2 separate regions of the Homo sapiens genome follow, and region 2 is linked to region 1. The links are contacts of gene promoters, found by promoter capture Hi-C in blood cells and fetal thymus (Javierre and others, 2016). All regions are on one chromosome and are shown on one strand. The core of a region is centred on a gene start or on the middle of the fragment in contact, and the rest is flanking DNA. Distances in the headings are between cores, read along the strand shown. Region 1 holds the start of NAA16 (N-alpha-acetyltransferase 16, NatA auxiliary subunit). Region 2 overlaps WBP4 (WW domain binding protein 4).

Region 1 (7,883 bases), core at 2,606-5,105:
TCTATTTTCCACACAGTGCTATCATTTCCTGAAATCTTATTTATGCTATTATTTAGTGTCTGTCTTCCCCACCATCATATAATGGATCCTTAGAACAATGATCTCACCTATCTTTCTTATTTATTTTTTAGAGACAGTCTCACTCTGTTGCCCAAGCTGGTGTGCAGTGACACAATCACCATAACCTCAAACTGCTGAGCTCAAGTGATCTTCCCACCTTAGCCTCCTGAGTGGATAGGAAGGACTACAGGTGTGTGCCATCATGCCTGGCTAAATTTTTTTTTATTTTTTTATTTTTGGTAGAGATGAAGTCTCACTATGTTGGTCTTTTGCTCCTGGGCTCAAGTGATCCTAGCTCCCACCTCAGCCTCCCAAAGTGCTGGGATTACAGGCATGAGCCACTGCGCCGGCCTTAGCCTATTTTACATACTGCTGCATTGCCATGGCTAAACAAATAAGAAACTGCTCCATAAATACAGCCTACTAAGTTCAAAGCAAAATGCCACTAGCAATGGATGAGACCATCTTTAAGCCTTGCAGCAGGGGCTGGATGTGGAAGGAATTAGAAAAGTCTTCATGGAAAAAAAGTTTATATTGAGGCCTCTTGACAGCCTCTGGGGAAGGGAACTAGGTGATTCTGCGATAAGGATAGGAGAGAAACCTAAATTTTGAACCATGTGAATATACTGCCTATTCCAAAAATATTTTAAAATAAAAAATGACAATCTGAGTTTGACTACAAGTCTGTCTCACAAATGACAAGAAAAAAACAAGAGAAAGGAACTACTGAGAAAGACAAATAGAAATACTAGTTTTTCTGACTTACCAGGTTATCTGAAAATAATAATAATCATACTGCCAATAACAGTAATAATAGTTAACACCTATTGGAAGCATTTACTATACGTCCAGACACTGTTATTTTTTTCCTTCATCCCATGACAGCTTATTTACTCTTTATTTAAATCCCAGGAAAGCCTATGAGATGCATGATATCCCCATTTAGATAGAGAAACTGAGGCATAGTTATAGAGTTTATATAACTATTAAGTGCCAGAGCCACAACTCTTAACCAGGTAGTCTGTCCCCAGAGTCCAAGTACTCGGGTAAAGACAAGTCAACCTGTAATCTCAGCTACTCAGGAGGCTGAGGCACGAGAATCGCTTGAATCTGGGAGGCAGAGGTTGCAGTGAGATCTTGCCACTGCACTCCAGCCTGGGCGACAAAGCGATACACTCTCGCAAAAAAAAAAAAAAGACAAATCTACATTCACTCAGGAACCATTATATACTAAGCAGAAATGATAGATTCTAGTCTCAACTTTGCTACTAACCAGACAGAGAACCTTAGCCACTTGGTCATTTACCATCTTTAGGTTTGTCTCTTTCTAAAAGAGGGCATGGAATACCTCCAAAATTCAACAAACTGTAATGCTAATTAATATCCAGTCTGGGGAATAAGACATGCAGATACAAGCCACGTGGAACACGTAAAAAACCAGCTGGTCAGTTTGTGTGGATGTGTTTGAATTTTTTCAATAGAAAAAATTTTACTGTTGGTGGCAAAGCACTTTAATCCACTAAACTTTAAAGATAATTTTATTACAGAGACTTCTGTTTGCTATGGAATTTGTTGTAGCCAAATTTTACCCACATTTATTGCAATTGTGAAATGATAAAATCATTCGTTTATGCAGAATCCTCCTAAATTCACGCAACCTTGTCAGAAACATTACATACCTAGATTTAAAAATGTTTAGCTTGGCTGAGCACAGTAGCTCACATCTGTAATCCCAGCAATTTGGGAGGCTGAGGTGGGAAGATCGCTTCAAGCCAGGAATTCGACAGTAGCCTGGCCAACAAACCGAGACTTCCATCTCAAAATAATTGATTTTTTTTTAGTGGTTACCATTTCCCAATTTATTTGGGGATAAACCCTACCTTTTTTGTAATTTAAGAATAATAATGTAACTTTTTCCTTATGACACTGATCCATGATTTGAACTACAAAAAACTCGTATAAAGAGAAAAGAAGTGCTGTCATCTTTAAAGTATGATGCCAAATGTCCTGAAATCCAACTAGCGATTTATAAATGATATTATCATTAATGTTTCAGATTCCCAGGGCAAAAAAAAATTAAAAATAAAAATAAATAAATTACTTCTCCAATTCCATGCTGTGTAAAATAAAAGGGCATGAGAAGTAAAATAAAAAAATACAAAGCCCAATGAAGCAACCTGCCACGTGCTTTAATTATTCGTATTTTTAATGTTCTCACATTTGTATCTTATTATTGGTTCAAAACTAAGCACCACATAATATTTAAAATTTTTATCCCATCTACTATGTATCCTAATCTGAAGACTAAGTGTGAAGTTTCTATCGTCTTGAAACAGAACAGCTACTATGAATTATCTGCCGCTGTTCATACTTAAAATTACTCTAAAATTAGTATTTTATTTATAGTAAAGTTAAGCAACAACTAACAGCCATATAGCCAACCCAGCTTTCAATAAATTCACCTTTAAACCTAAATGCATGTTTAGCAAATAAAAGCTTTTTTTCAGGTGAAAAGATAAACTAGAAAAGACAGTTACCTACTAACAATATTAGTTTAAAACCTAGGGTAGCCAGAGGATACTGAGGAAAGCAAAGGAATGCTGCCTCTTCTCCTTGGAAGAACAGAACCTGGAAAGCTACCAGGGACGCTGGCACACAGCCCACAGAAAACTGCCCACCCGGCTCCGCAGCGGTCATCACTACGGGGCCATTATTCAGGCTTCTGCTCCGCGATAAAGTAAAAATGCTCCCCTCAAATGCAAAACCAGCCAGTCCACGCGGCTTTAATTACTCAAGCAAGGCCTGTGCGACTAAAAAGCAAACAGCTGTTTTGAAGTTGGTGACAACTCAGAAACGCACTTCAAGTCAAATATTCACTTCCAAAGAGGTAAATAAGGTACATTACAAACAGGCAAACTTTTTCCCAAAGGGAGGTGGTGCCAGGCCTGGCTTCCTAAAGTTGCCGGTTTTATTTCCTCGTAACCAGGAAAAATTCCACCATCGCATCGATCCCGCTTTAATAGGTATGCGGGTGTGCTGTGCAATCTAACTAAACGCAAAGCAGAGAATGCAGAACGCAAAACACCTAGCCGAGGAGAGACTGGCAAAATAAACCACCGGGGGAGGATCCCTGAGGGGCTGCTGCGAGCCCGGCGCGGCAGAGAGCACGGCAGCCACTACCGGCCGAGGCGGCTGTGCCCGGGCACTGCGGAGAGCGGCGTGAAGTTTCTGGAAAGAGCGCGGCGGGGGTGAGGCGAGCCGCAGAAGACCGCGGAAAGGAAGCGCACGGAGGAGCGGCTCGGCAGCCCCCGTGGGCCGGCCGGAGCGGGAAAGTGGGGTCCCGCGACCTCCGAGGTAAACAAAGAGCGGTGGGCAGCGGAGGCCAAGCCTGGCCCGCGCCGGCCGCCGCCAGACCGCTTGCCCTTAAGGCCCGAGGACCCGGGGACCGGGGGGCGGCAGCGCGGCCTACGGCCACTCACCAAGATGCGTTTGAAGAGGTTGCTCTCCTTGGGCGGCAGCAGCACGTTCGGCATCGTGGCCGGCAGGGAGGCTAGGTGGCCGGCAGGGAGGCTAGGTGCCCGGGCGCTCCGCTTCGCGGGGGTGGGCACCGGGACGAACCGCTGCTGAGAGTCGGGCTGCGGGCGATGGATTAGTTCATTGGTCTACAGTTGCAATTGGGCAGCCTGGCTGTTCGGCACGGGTGGCAATGGAGAAGGAAGGCGGTCTGAGCAGGACACGCTTCCCCTGGGCTCCGCTTTTTGGCCAGCGGCGGCGGCGGCGGTTCCCGCGCACTGCAAGATGGCAGCCAGGGTCCGCCTCCCGAGCCGGATCCTGTGCGCATGCGCGGAGCGCCCTTTGGCGAGGGGCTGCGGGTGACTACGGGGGCGTAGCGGGGACCAACCGCGTGGATTTGCCTTGTGCTGCGGCTCTCCTCGCCGCAATCTCGGCACCCCCTGGGGCTCAGGCGAGCTGTCACCAAAACCTTGGAGTCCCATGGGGTGGTGAGTCACCACCCTCATTCACCATTGCTCCTATGCATCAGAACGCCTCATAAGACTCCTACTTATTGTCTGCTTCTCCTTGCAATAAAGTAATAAATAAAAACGAGAATTTTCTTTTAAGTAGAAAAGAGAAGACACTGACTTGTATTGCACTCTTGATAAGCTTGTGGCGCAAGATAATGTTAGTTATGACTCTGAAGAGTCAGAGTTTTTTGCATTTCTCCCCATTTAGGAATTTAAGTGTCCGATGCAAAGTAGACTTTTGATGAAAGATGAACTTGTTTTCTTTCCTTTTCCTCCTTGATTCAGACTCTAAGTAGAAGCCTTCTCTTTCCAGGGCAAACCAAACAAACATTTACAATCTTTGTTTTTGTTTGGTTGGTTGGTTTTGAGATGGAGTATCGCTCTTGTCGCCCAGGCTGCAGTGCAGTGGCGCTATCTGGGCTCACTGCAACCTCCGCCTCCTGAGTTCAAAGGATTCTCCTGCCTCAGCCTCCCGAGTGGCTGGGATTACAGGCATGCGCCACCACACCCGGCTAATTTTGTATTTTTAGTAGAGACAGGCTTTCACCATGTTGGCCAGGATGGTCTTGATCTCTTGACCTCGTGATCCGCCCCCGCGTCAACCTCCGAAAGTGCTGGGATTACAGGCGTGAGCCACCACACCTGGCCGGAATTACGGTTTTATAAGGCCACTGGTCTTCTGAGTCTACCTACCCTTTCTCTTCAGATGGTTCCCCTTCCTGAAAGCCATATAATAATGGGAGAAACAGGCTTCAAATTCAGGATCTTCCAACTCTGGGATACTCTCTACAACAAATAAAAGGCAGCATATTGATGGTAATGTGTGAGTCTAGAAAGATACAACAGTGGCAAGAATAAACCATACATTCAGTGTAGGGTTAGTAGTAAGGTGTGTGTAAACATTAGGTACATAAGTTTATTTATACATGTGCTGAATCTTAATGGGTGCATATTTCTGAGACTATAAAGTAATTGATGAGTAACTGCATTTAGTCGGCTGTAATCAGAACTGGGCTGCCCTTTTTTATTTTCCTTTTTTTGAGACGATGTTTTGTTCTTGTTGCCGAGGCTGGAATGCAATGGCGCTATCTCAGCTCCCTGTAACCTCCGCCTCCCAGGTTCAAGCGATTCTCCTGCCTCAGCCTCCCAAGTAGCAGGGATGACAGGCATGCACCACCACACCTGGCTAATTTAGTATTTTTAGTAGAGACGGGGTTTCTCCATGTTGGTCAGGCTGGTCTCAAACTCCCGACCTCAGGTGATCTGCCCACCTCGGCCTTCCAAAGTGCTGGGATTACAGGTGTGAGCCACAGTGCCTGCCTATTTGATTTTCCTTCTTTCTAGCCTAAGTTGGTTGGACATGAAAGAATCATAGGAGTCTTTTTTTTTCTTTCAATCTCCTACGTTTCACACATGATTTTAAAGCATCATAGGAGTCCTTTAAAATAGGGAAAGTACTGTCATTAAAATTGGGGGTCCACAGCAATCCCATTGCTGGGTATATACCCAAAAGAATATAAATTGTTCTACCGTAAAGACACATGCACAGCCAGGTGCAGTGACTCACGCCTGTAATCCCAGCACTTTGGGCGGCTGAGGCAGGCGGATCACCCTGAGCTCAGGAGTTGGAGACCAGCCGGGGCAACATGGCAAACACACACACACACACACACACACACACACACACACACACACTAGCTGGGCATAGTGGCGAGTGCCTGTAGTCCCAGCTACTTGGGATGCTGAGGTGCGAGGATCAATTGAGCCTGGGAGACAGGTTGCAGTGAGCCAAGATCATGCCACTGCACTCCAGCCTGGGCAACAAACTGCCTCAAAAAAAAAAAGGACACATGCACGTGTATGTTCATCGCAGCACTATTCACAATAAAAAGACATGGAAGTAACCTAGATGCCCATCGGTGGACTGGATAAAGAAAATGTGGTACACCATGGAATACTACACAGCCACAAAAAAGAATGAGACCATGTCCTTTGCAGCAACACAGGTAGAGCTGGAGGCCATTATCCAAAATGAATTAATGCAGGAACAGAAAATCAAATACCACATGTTTTCACTTACAGGTGGAATTATAAACACTGAGTACCCATGGACACAAATAAGGGAACAGTAGACACTGAGGCCTACTTGAGGGTGGAGAGTAGGAGGAGGGTGAAGATTAAAAAACTACCTATAGGGTATTATGCTGATTACCTGGGTGACAAGACTGTCTGTACACCAAACCCCCACAACATGCAATTTACCTGTGTAATAAACCTGAACATTTACCCCTTGAGTCTAAAATAAAAAATGGAAAGAAAAAAATAAAAGTGGGGGTTCAAGGGCCTATGTGTACTCTGCAGAGCTCCCAAGCTGCCCAAGCTGTTAGGAAGTAGGCAAGTATAGATGCTTTAGGAGCTTGCCTTAGTCGCACCTGTACTAGTGGCAGTCCCCCACCCGGAGAACTGAGCAAGCACACAGAAGTGCCTCCTCTCAGCACCCTCATACTCAACCACTGCCATAATTGCTAGCCACAGTTTGCTTACCACGGCATTACTAATTCCTGAAAACCTTTGGCTCCCAATTTATCTACATTGTCATTTATCTACATCATCAGAAGTGAAGGGTTACTCACGAAAAGAGCCAAACCTTCAGTGCGTCAGTCAAGCCCTCACTTGACCCTCATAGGACATGGACTTTTCTAGACCTATTTCAAAATGACAAATTAGATTTTTAAAAGAAATATACAAGAGAAGGGAAGAAAAGCATAGTACCAACTGTAAATATTTTGAAGACAAGGAACGATTATCTTTTATGAAAGTTTCCTGTGGGCCTCTTCCAGCCTTATTTACTACAAATCATTAACTATCTTCACTCTCTGTGGTAGCAGCTAAATCATCACCCTCATTCACCATTGCTCTCCCCAACCCCTAAATCAGCAGCCCAGGAAGGTTCTTCACGTGCACTCTGCAGCCTCCGACCCACTGCCAACTTCCACTTCCCAGGACACACAGTTCCGTGCCAGCATCTCCCAGGGAAGCGCAGTCACGCAAAGAAAATCTGCAATCCCAAATACTAGAAAGCAGCACTAGTTTGCTACTAGTTATAAACTATAGTTATATATAGTTATAAATACTCATATTTAATATCTTCTTCATCTGTCTTTCACACACCATACACACATACCTTTTGTATTAGTCTGTTCTCACATTGCTATAAAAAATTACCTGAGACTGGGTAATTTATAAAGAAAAGAAGTTTAATTGGCTCACAGTTCCACAGGCTATACAGGAAGCATGGCTGGGGAGGCCTCAGGAAACTTACAATCATGGTGGAAGGCAAACGGGAAGCAGGCACATCCTACATGGCTGGAGCAGGAGGAATAGAGTGAAAGAGGAGGTGCTACACACTTTTTTTTTTTTTGAGATGGAGCCTCATCTGCCACCCAGGCTGGAGTGCACTGGCATGATCTCAGTCACTGCAACCTCCTGGGTTCAAGCAATCCTCCTGCCTCAGCCTCCTGAGTAGCTGGGACCACAGGCATGCACCGCCATGCCCAGCTAATTTTTGTATTTTTAGTAGAGATGGGGTTTCACCATGTTGGCCAGGCTGGTTTTGAACTCTTGACCTTGTGATCCACCCGCCTCAGCCTCCCAAAGTGCTGGGATTACAGGCATGAGCCACAATGCCCAGCGGTGCTACACACTTTTAAACAACTAGATCGTGAGAACTCACTCACTATCATGAGAACAGCAAGGGGAAAATCTGTCCCCATGATCCAGTCACCTCCTACCAGGCCC
Region 2 (7,883 bases), core at 2,113-4,612, 240 kb after region 1:
AGCTATATTATATCACTATACTATTTTATATGTATAAAAATCCCAACCTTCAATTGTACTGGAATATAAACATTGCTATAACTGGGCAGGCTAAATATCTACTTGGAGGTTAAAAGGGCCTTTTCTTCCTAAAAGATTTAATGCTATGCAATGAGCTAATGATAACAGGAATTAAAAAAACAAAAACAAGCCTCTCCTAAAGTTACATTAATGTTATAGCTGTTCTGATAAATTCAACTGTTTATGATGTTAAATTAGATGAAACATTAATTTGAAAGTTTTAGGGCCGGGCGCGGTGGCTCACGCCTGTAATCCCAGCACTTTGGGAGGCCGAGGCGGGCGGATCACGAGGTCAGGAGATCGAGACCATCCTGACTAACATGGTGAAACCCCGTCTCTACTAAAAATACAAAAAATTAGCCTGGCGAAGTGGCTGGTGCCTGTAGTCCCAGCTACTTGGGAGGCTGAGGCAGGAGAATGGCATGAACCCCAGGGGGCAGAGCCTGCAGTGAGCCGAGATTGTGCCACTGCACTCCAGCCTGGACGATAGCAAGACTCCGTCTCAAAAAAAAAAAAAAAGTTTTAGATAACAATTAGTATTTATGCATGCTTCGTAAGTATTTATGCAACTGAAACATTGTTAAATTTTCACTTTTACTAATTTGTTAGACACTACTAAATAGCTTCAGTTTTATTTTTTATTTTATTTTGAGACAGTCTTGCTCTGTCGCCCAGACTGGAGTGCAGTGGTGCGATCTTGGCTCACTGCAACCTCTACCTCCTGGGTTCAAGTGATTCTCTGCCTCAGCCTCCTGAGTAGCTGGGACTACAGGTGCCCACCACCACGCCCGGGTAATTTTTTAGTAGAGAAGGGGTTTCACCATGTTGGTCAGGCTGGTCTCGAACTCCTGACCTCAGATGATCTGCCCGCCTTGGCCTTCCAAACTGCTGAGATTACAGGCGTGAGCCACCGCGCCTAGCCTACTTTTTTTTTTTTTTTTGAGACAGAGTTTTGCTCTTGTTGCCCAGGCTGGAGTGCAATGGCACGATCTCGGGTCACTGCAACCTCCGCCTCCCAGGTACAAGATTCTCCTGTCTCAGCCTCCCAAGTAGCTTGGATTACAGGCATGTGCCACCACACCCGGCTAATTTGTTTGTATTTAACAGAGACAGGGTTTCACCATGTTGGTCAGGTTGGTCGCTTAACTCCTGACCTCAGGTGATCCACCTGTCTTGGCCTCCCAAACTGCTGGGATTACAGGCATGTGCCACTGTGCCCGGCCACAGTTTTATTTTTAAAAAGGAAAAGGCAAGTTGAGCCAGATGATCTCTAAGCTACCTTCCAAGGTAATGACTATATTTCTAAAATAATTATAAAAATAGTAATGTCAGAGAAAGCTAAAATGATTCTATTTTTAAGTTTGTGAATGCAATATCAACTGAGAATAACATTGGTGAACAGCACAACATAATACGAATATAAATCTTTTTGCTTTTCCACTGTATTGTTTTTAAATTACAAAAAATAATTCATGTTTACTACACAAATATGTTTATTGTATACTAAAATTTCCAAGTTCAGATGATTAATCAGCAGGCCAATAAGCAGTTCCAGGTACAATTTTAAACAGTTAAGATAATCAAAGGTAATACTTACCTCCTGTTTCTGTATTATAGTAATAGGTAAAACCATCTTCACTTAAACCTTCTACCCAAACGGTCTTCACTGCTGTCTAATAGGAGGAAAAAAACCCAGCATAAACTAAGGATAACCATGATTTTCTATTGAATAACTCAGACAGTCAGCCACCCTTGCCTCTCCTCCTGACACCTGGTGATATCATCTCGATCTGCATCCCCACCCAAATCTCATGTAGACTTGTAATCCTCCAAGTTGGAGATGGGGCCTTGTGGGAGGTGACTGCATCACAGGGGTGGTTTCTCATGGTTTCAACACCATCCACCTTTGGTGCTGTTGTTGAAATAGTGAGCAAGCTACCCTGAGATCTGGTCATTGAAAAGTGTGTGGCACCTCCCTTTGCTCCTGGTCTGGCCATGTAAGATGTGACTGTTTTCCCTTGGCCTTCTGCTATGATTGTAAGTTTCCTGAAGCCTCTCCAGAAGCTCATGCCACCATGCTTCCTGTACAGCCTGCATAACTGTGAGTCAATTAAACCTCTTTTCTTGATAAATTACCTAGTTTCAGAAGTATTTCTTTATAGCAATGCAAGAACTGACTAATACACCTGGGTATTAGGGGTGGTAGTACTAATCATGGCCAGGAAGCTTGGTTTTTGCTAATAAAGAACCAACTTTCAAGCAGTGGATGTCTCACCTTTGAAAGCCAGGAACAATTCCTTCCAAATGGACAGGAACATGTGAATGGCAACTGACGGCAAACCAACTAATATTTGCCCTGAATGCAGTTTTTGGATAGATATCAGTACTTTTTTTTTTTTTTTTTTTTTTGAGACGGAGTCTTACTTTGTTATCCAGGCTGGAGTGCGGTGGTGCAATCTCGGCTCACTGTTAACCTCTGCCGCCCCAGGTCCCAGTGATTCCCCTGACTCAGCCTCCTGAGTAGCTGGGATTACAGGCAACTGCGACTGCGCCTGGCTAATTTTTTTGTAGTTTTTAGGAGAGATAGGGTTTCACCATCTTGGCCAGGCTGGTCTTTAACTCCTGACCTTGTGATCCACATGCCTCAGCCTCCCAAAGTGCTGGGATTACAGGCATGAGCCACTGCACCCAGCCAGATATCACTATTTCATCTCCATCCAGCCTTCTAACAAAAGCATTATGGGAAAAAAAAGGACACAGTTTGGGGGTGGAGGGAGTGGAGTATTTGTAAATAAAGTTGCTTAGCAAAACTCTACAAAAACCTAAGAAACGAATCACTGTAAAGAATAAAACAAAAACACTATTAATATGCTTCAATTACCTTTTTTAAGTCTCCTTGAAATCCTTCAGGTTTCTCCCACTGAGATGCTTAAAGCAAAATATATTGCATTTATAAAATCTTTTTGCTTTAAAAAAATACTTTCCAAAAAATTTGGACAAAATTTACAGTCATTATGTACAAAACACTACAGGTCTACAATTTAAAACATATTTGAAAAATAAAACAGAACATACATCCCAGTACTGTGCAGACAATATATGTGAATGCTACGTAACCAAGAAGAAAGGACAGAACGAGGGATTAGAAGTTACTGGAACTTCCACAGGAATTTTAGAGCCAGGCAGGGCTTCTCATAAAGGTTTCACAGAATTCAGGTCTGATAAGTTTCAAAGGCCTTTTGATATCTTGGGGCAAGGGAGAGTGAGAGATAAACTGAATAAGAACTCAGAAGAGGAACAACTAGTATGCAGAAATTAAAAACATGTATCATGGAGAGGAAGAGTATATAAAGTAGGATGCTGAAAAAGAGAGGCAAGCAATAAGCATTGGAAGGGAGAAATGAAATAACAGTTTATAAGTAAATTTGAGAAAGACTTCTAATTGCTAGTACATAATCATTTATGATATCTTCATTGCTAAACTACAATATGCATGTCACTTAAAGCTCAGTGCAAACTCTAACGGATTAATATTTCTACATAGTCCAAAGGTAATTATGATCCTAATGATAATAGTCATTACAGTAAGATTGTTAGCCCAAGGATTTCTTCATGATTAACTCTCTGATCTTATTTCCTACCTTCCTAGCATTCTTAACCTTCTTTTGCTGGCTTTTCTTCTATCCATTCCTTTAATATATGTAACACTCACCTTCTTTACTTCTTGCTCTATTCTCTCTGCTTGCGATCTCATATACTCCTAAAGGCTAACATATTATCTACATCCCCAGACTCAATTTTGCTCAGCTCCACACTGTAACCATCAATTAGCTACCAAAAGCTGTCATATGAATATTCTGTAGGTACCTCATATTCAACGTATCTAATTCATTATTGTCCCCATTAAACTTATTTTCAGTTCCTTATCTCGTATCTAAGTAAATGGCACCATCATTCTCTCAGCCCTCCATAAGATGGCTCCAATCTACCTTCCAGTCTAACTCTACTAAGACGTCTTCAAAGAACTGCATGTTTTACCTCGACCACTATTTCCCAATACTTTCAAACCTTTTTTGGGGTTCATATTGTTCTGTGTGGATTCTGTACCTCTTAATTATCTACTGAAGTCTTCTTTAATCAAAACACAGAGTGTCTACACTGTGCTAGGCACTATGTTAGGCGCCAGGAATACAATGGTGAGTAAGGCATCATTCCTGATGTCCCTATCTTAATTTAGAGATCAGCTCAAAAGTAATTCCTATGGTAATCTCTCAAAGCTACATAATCACAATGAATTCAACATTATTATGAGTTCCCATATAATCTTAATTACACTTCTATTATAGCACTTTAAAATTCCTCCTTTTATCAAGCTTATTTATTTGTCGCTAAATTTTATGACTCTGGAGAGTAAGATGCTACATAAATGTAGAATAAATGTATTAATTTATTCCAAAATGTATACGGAGTAAAAACCCCAAATACATTTAGTTTTTAGGAAAAACAAAAAAAGATGTTTTTGATATTGTTACTGTAAAACGACACTGTGTATTTTTTTTTTCTTTTTTTTTTTTTTGAGATGGACTTTCGCTCTTGTTGCCCAGGCAGGAGTGAAATGGCGCGATCTGGGCTCACTGCAAACTCCATCTCCTGGGTTCAATTGATTCTCCTGCCTCAGCCTCCCAGGTAGCTGGGATTACAGGCATGAGCCACCTCGCTTGGCTACTTTTTTTTTTTTTTTTTTTTTTTGAGGCAGAGTCTCGCTCTGTCGCCCAGGCTGGAGTACAGTGGCCCAATCTACGCTCACCGCAAGCTCCGCTTCCTGGGTTCAGTGGCCCAATCTCGGCTCACTGCAAGCTCCGCCTCCTGGGTTCACGCCATTCTCCTGCCTCAGCCTCCCAAGTAGCTGGGACTACAGGTGCCCACCATCATGCCTGGCTAATTTTTTGTTTTTTCAGTAGAGACGGGGTTTCACCATGTTAGCTAGGATGGTTTTGATCTCCTGACCTTGTGATCTGCCCATCTCAGCCTCCCAAAGTGCTGGGATTACAGGTGTGAGCCACCGCGCCTAGCCTAATTTTGTATTTTTAGTACAGATGGGGTTTCACCATGTTGGTCAGGCTGGTCTTGAACTCCTGACCTCAAGTGATCTACCCTCCTCGGCCCCTCAAAAGTGCTAGGATTACAGGCATGAGCCACTGCATCTGGCCATGGCACTGTGTATTTTTCTGTTGGGTATCAGTTTCCAGTAAAATACACAATGTCATTTTTCAGTAACAATATCAAATCAATCAAGGCAGCTACAGAAAAAAGAAATCAGTTACTGGCTCCCAGAAGAAAATCTCTACTGTAGAATATTTTATTTCAAGTACCCCTACAATTTGTGAAGTGGATTTGAAATTCCTTATTTCTATGCAAAATTCTTTATTTCCATGTAGTTTATACTTACAGAAGTTTCTATTGAGAAAATATAAAGCTATAGTTTATTTGTAAGAAAGTCATTATCAAAGGCTTTGACTAAGTATGACACTTAGTCACTATGAGAAGGGTACCTTTTTAAAGGGCACACAGTTTTCTTACCTTTGGGGCAAAAATGAAAAACCGGTCTTTCACTATTTAAAGTGCTCCAACATTAGATAAAAATCCTAACATAAAATAAATTGTTCTATTCTACTAGTGACACTGTTCTTTACCAGTTTTATGCCTAAATGACTTACCTCCTGAGATAAGATCATAATAGTAATGGTAACCCTCAGAGGTTATGCCTTCTACCCATCTGCCCTTTGAAGGATCTTTTTTTCTTTTCTTCTTTTCTTTCTTTTCTTTCTGTTGATTTGATGTCGAGGTAGGTGGGATAGTGCTGGTTACTGGTGTTATGCTTGGCTCCAAAATTTCTAAAGAGATGAGAGAAGGGTAAAGCAGCTATAGTAACTACTATTTTTTATGGTTGCTGGCATAAAACATTAATGTTATTCCAATCAAAAACCTGATAAGGTTCTTTTGAGAACTTAACACATTATTATAAAGTTCATTCGGAAAAATAAACATGTAAGGGAAGGAAAACTGTAATAAAAAGAAAAAGGAGAATTTAGTTCTACCAGGTGTTAAAACTTATTCTAAAACTATGGGTTAAAAAAACAGCCAGCAGTGTGGAACTGACATAGAAATAGGCAAGCATATAATTGAAACAAAATAGTCCAGATACAGAGCCAACTTCAGGTTGGCTGGTATTTCATATCAGAGGATAAAAGACAGATCATTAAAAAAAGAGGTTTTCAAATTACCTACTGGGTACAACGTTCACTATTTGGGCAATGGGTATACTAAAAGTCCAGATTCCATCACTATGCAATATATGCATATGAGAAATCTGCACTTGTACCCCCTACATCTATATATATATTAAAAAAAGGAAATAAAGAAAGCATGCTTAAAAAGAAAGTTTTTAGATTAACTGATTAATTATTTGGGAAAAAAGTAAAGCTGTTCCCCACTACCTGCTCCCTTCCCCCCTTTTTATTAAATACTAGGTCAAAGATAGTTACAAAAAGAACACAAAGTAAAATAATGTTAAATTTGACTACATAAAAATTAAGATATTCTGTATGACAAAAATAAAAAGAAAAAACATATATAAGACAAATGAAAAAATATTTACAATAAATATGGCAAAGGGTTAATATTCCTAACAAAGATCCTTTACAAATCAAACATTCTAATAGAAAAATGGACAACAATTACAAAGACAATTCAGATAATTAACATTTACTTTTTTTTCTCTTATGTTGTCCAGGCTGGAGTGCAGTGGTGCAATCATAGCCCACATTAGTAGCCTTGAACTTCTCAGCTCAAGCAATCCTCCCACTTTAGCATCCCAAGTAGCTGGGACTACAGGTGCGCACCACCAAGCCCAGTTAATTTTTTATTTTTATATTGTAGTAGAGGTGGGGTCTCACCATCTTGCTAGGTTGGTCTTGAACTCCTGGGCTCAAACAATCCTCCCACTCCGGCCTCCTAAACTGCTGGGATTACAGGCATGAGCCACGGCACCTGGCCAATTAACATTTACTTTTGCTAATATTCAAAGAAATGTTTTGTTGTTGTTTTGCAGAAGATCAATAAGTAGTGAAAAGAATGACCAAATCCAGTATTAGTTTGATAGATCAGGTATTTACATTGCTTTGAAAAAATGGGTAGTTTTGGTGGGGGACAGTGGCTCACGCTTGTAATCCCAGCACTTTGGGAAGCCCAGGCAGGTGGATTGCTTGAGGCCAGGAGTTCCAGATCAGCCTGGGCAACATGGCAAGACCCCGTCTCTACCAAAAAATCGCTGGGACTGGTGACGAGCTGAGGTGGGAGGATCACTGGAGCCCGGGAGGTCGAGGCTACAGTGAGCCATGATTTTGCCACTGCACTCCAACCAGGTGACAGAGCGAGACCTGTCTTCAAAAAAAGAGAAAAATAGTTTTTATGGCTTTACTTTCCAAAGGATTGGCTAGTTACTCCTAAAACGGGTTAATAAACTTATTTTTGTTCTAATGAAAATGTACATCAGTCCATTTCTGGAGACAATGTGGTATTAGCTATCAATATAAAATATATTCACACTTTTATACTGTAACTTCCAGAAACTGAACCTACAGAGAAAAATAAGTGTAAAAAGATACATGCATAAAGATGCTTAATGCCGCACTCTTTACGACAGTGAAAAATGCTAAGCAACCTAAATGTTAACCAGGAAAAGATTAAATAAATTATAGTACAGAGACAAAATAACAGTGGCTACCATTTATTCACCATTTGTTATGTGTGGTCACGTAATA

Evidence for each region. Contacts are between HindIII fragments. The CHiCAGO score rates a contact against its expected background, and 5 or more counts as called.
Region 2: a fragment that was not itself captured here is called in contact with the fragment with the promoter of NAA16 in region 1 in 2 of 17 cell types (erythroblasts and megakaryocytes); the score reaches 6.5 in erythroblasts.

What each region holds. Positions count from the first base shown.
Region 1 is chr13:41,307,239-41,315,121 of GRCh38, reverse strand. NAA16 (N-alpha-acetyltransferase 16, NatA auxiliary subunit) reads right to left here and starts at 3,855. Exons shown (of 20, transcript NM_024561.5): 1 at 3,540-3,855. The coding sequence starts at 3,593. It also overlaps a transcript of MTRF1 not described here. The HindIII fragment of the contact is 1,668 bases long and covers 2,559-4,226 here.
Region 2 is chr13:41,066,632-41,074,514 of GRCh38, reverse strand. It overlaps WBP4 (WW domain binding protein 4), which reads right to left. Exons shown (of 10, transcript NM_007187.5): 5 at 5,778-5,954; 6 at 2,942-2,988; 7 at 1,658-1,733. Among named protein-coding and RNA genes, the nearest start is that of WBP4, 9.1 kb to the right of the region's middle. The HindIII fragment of the contact is 2,147 bases long and covers 2,289-4,435 here.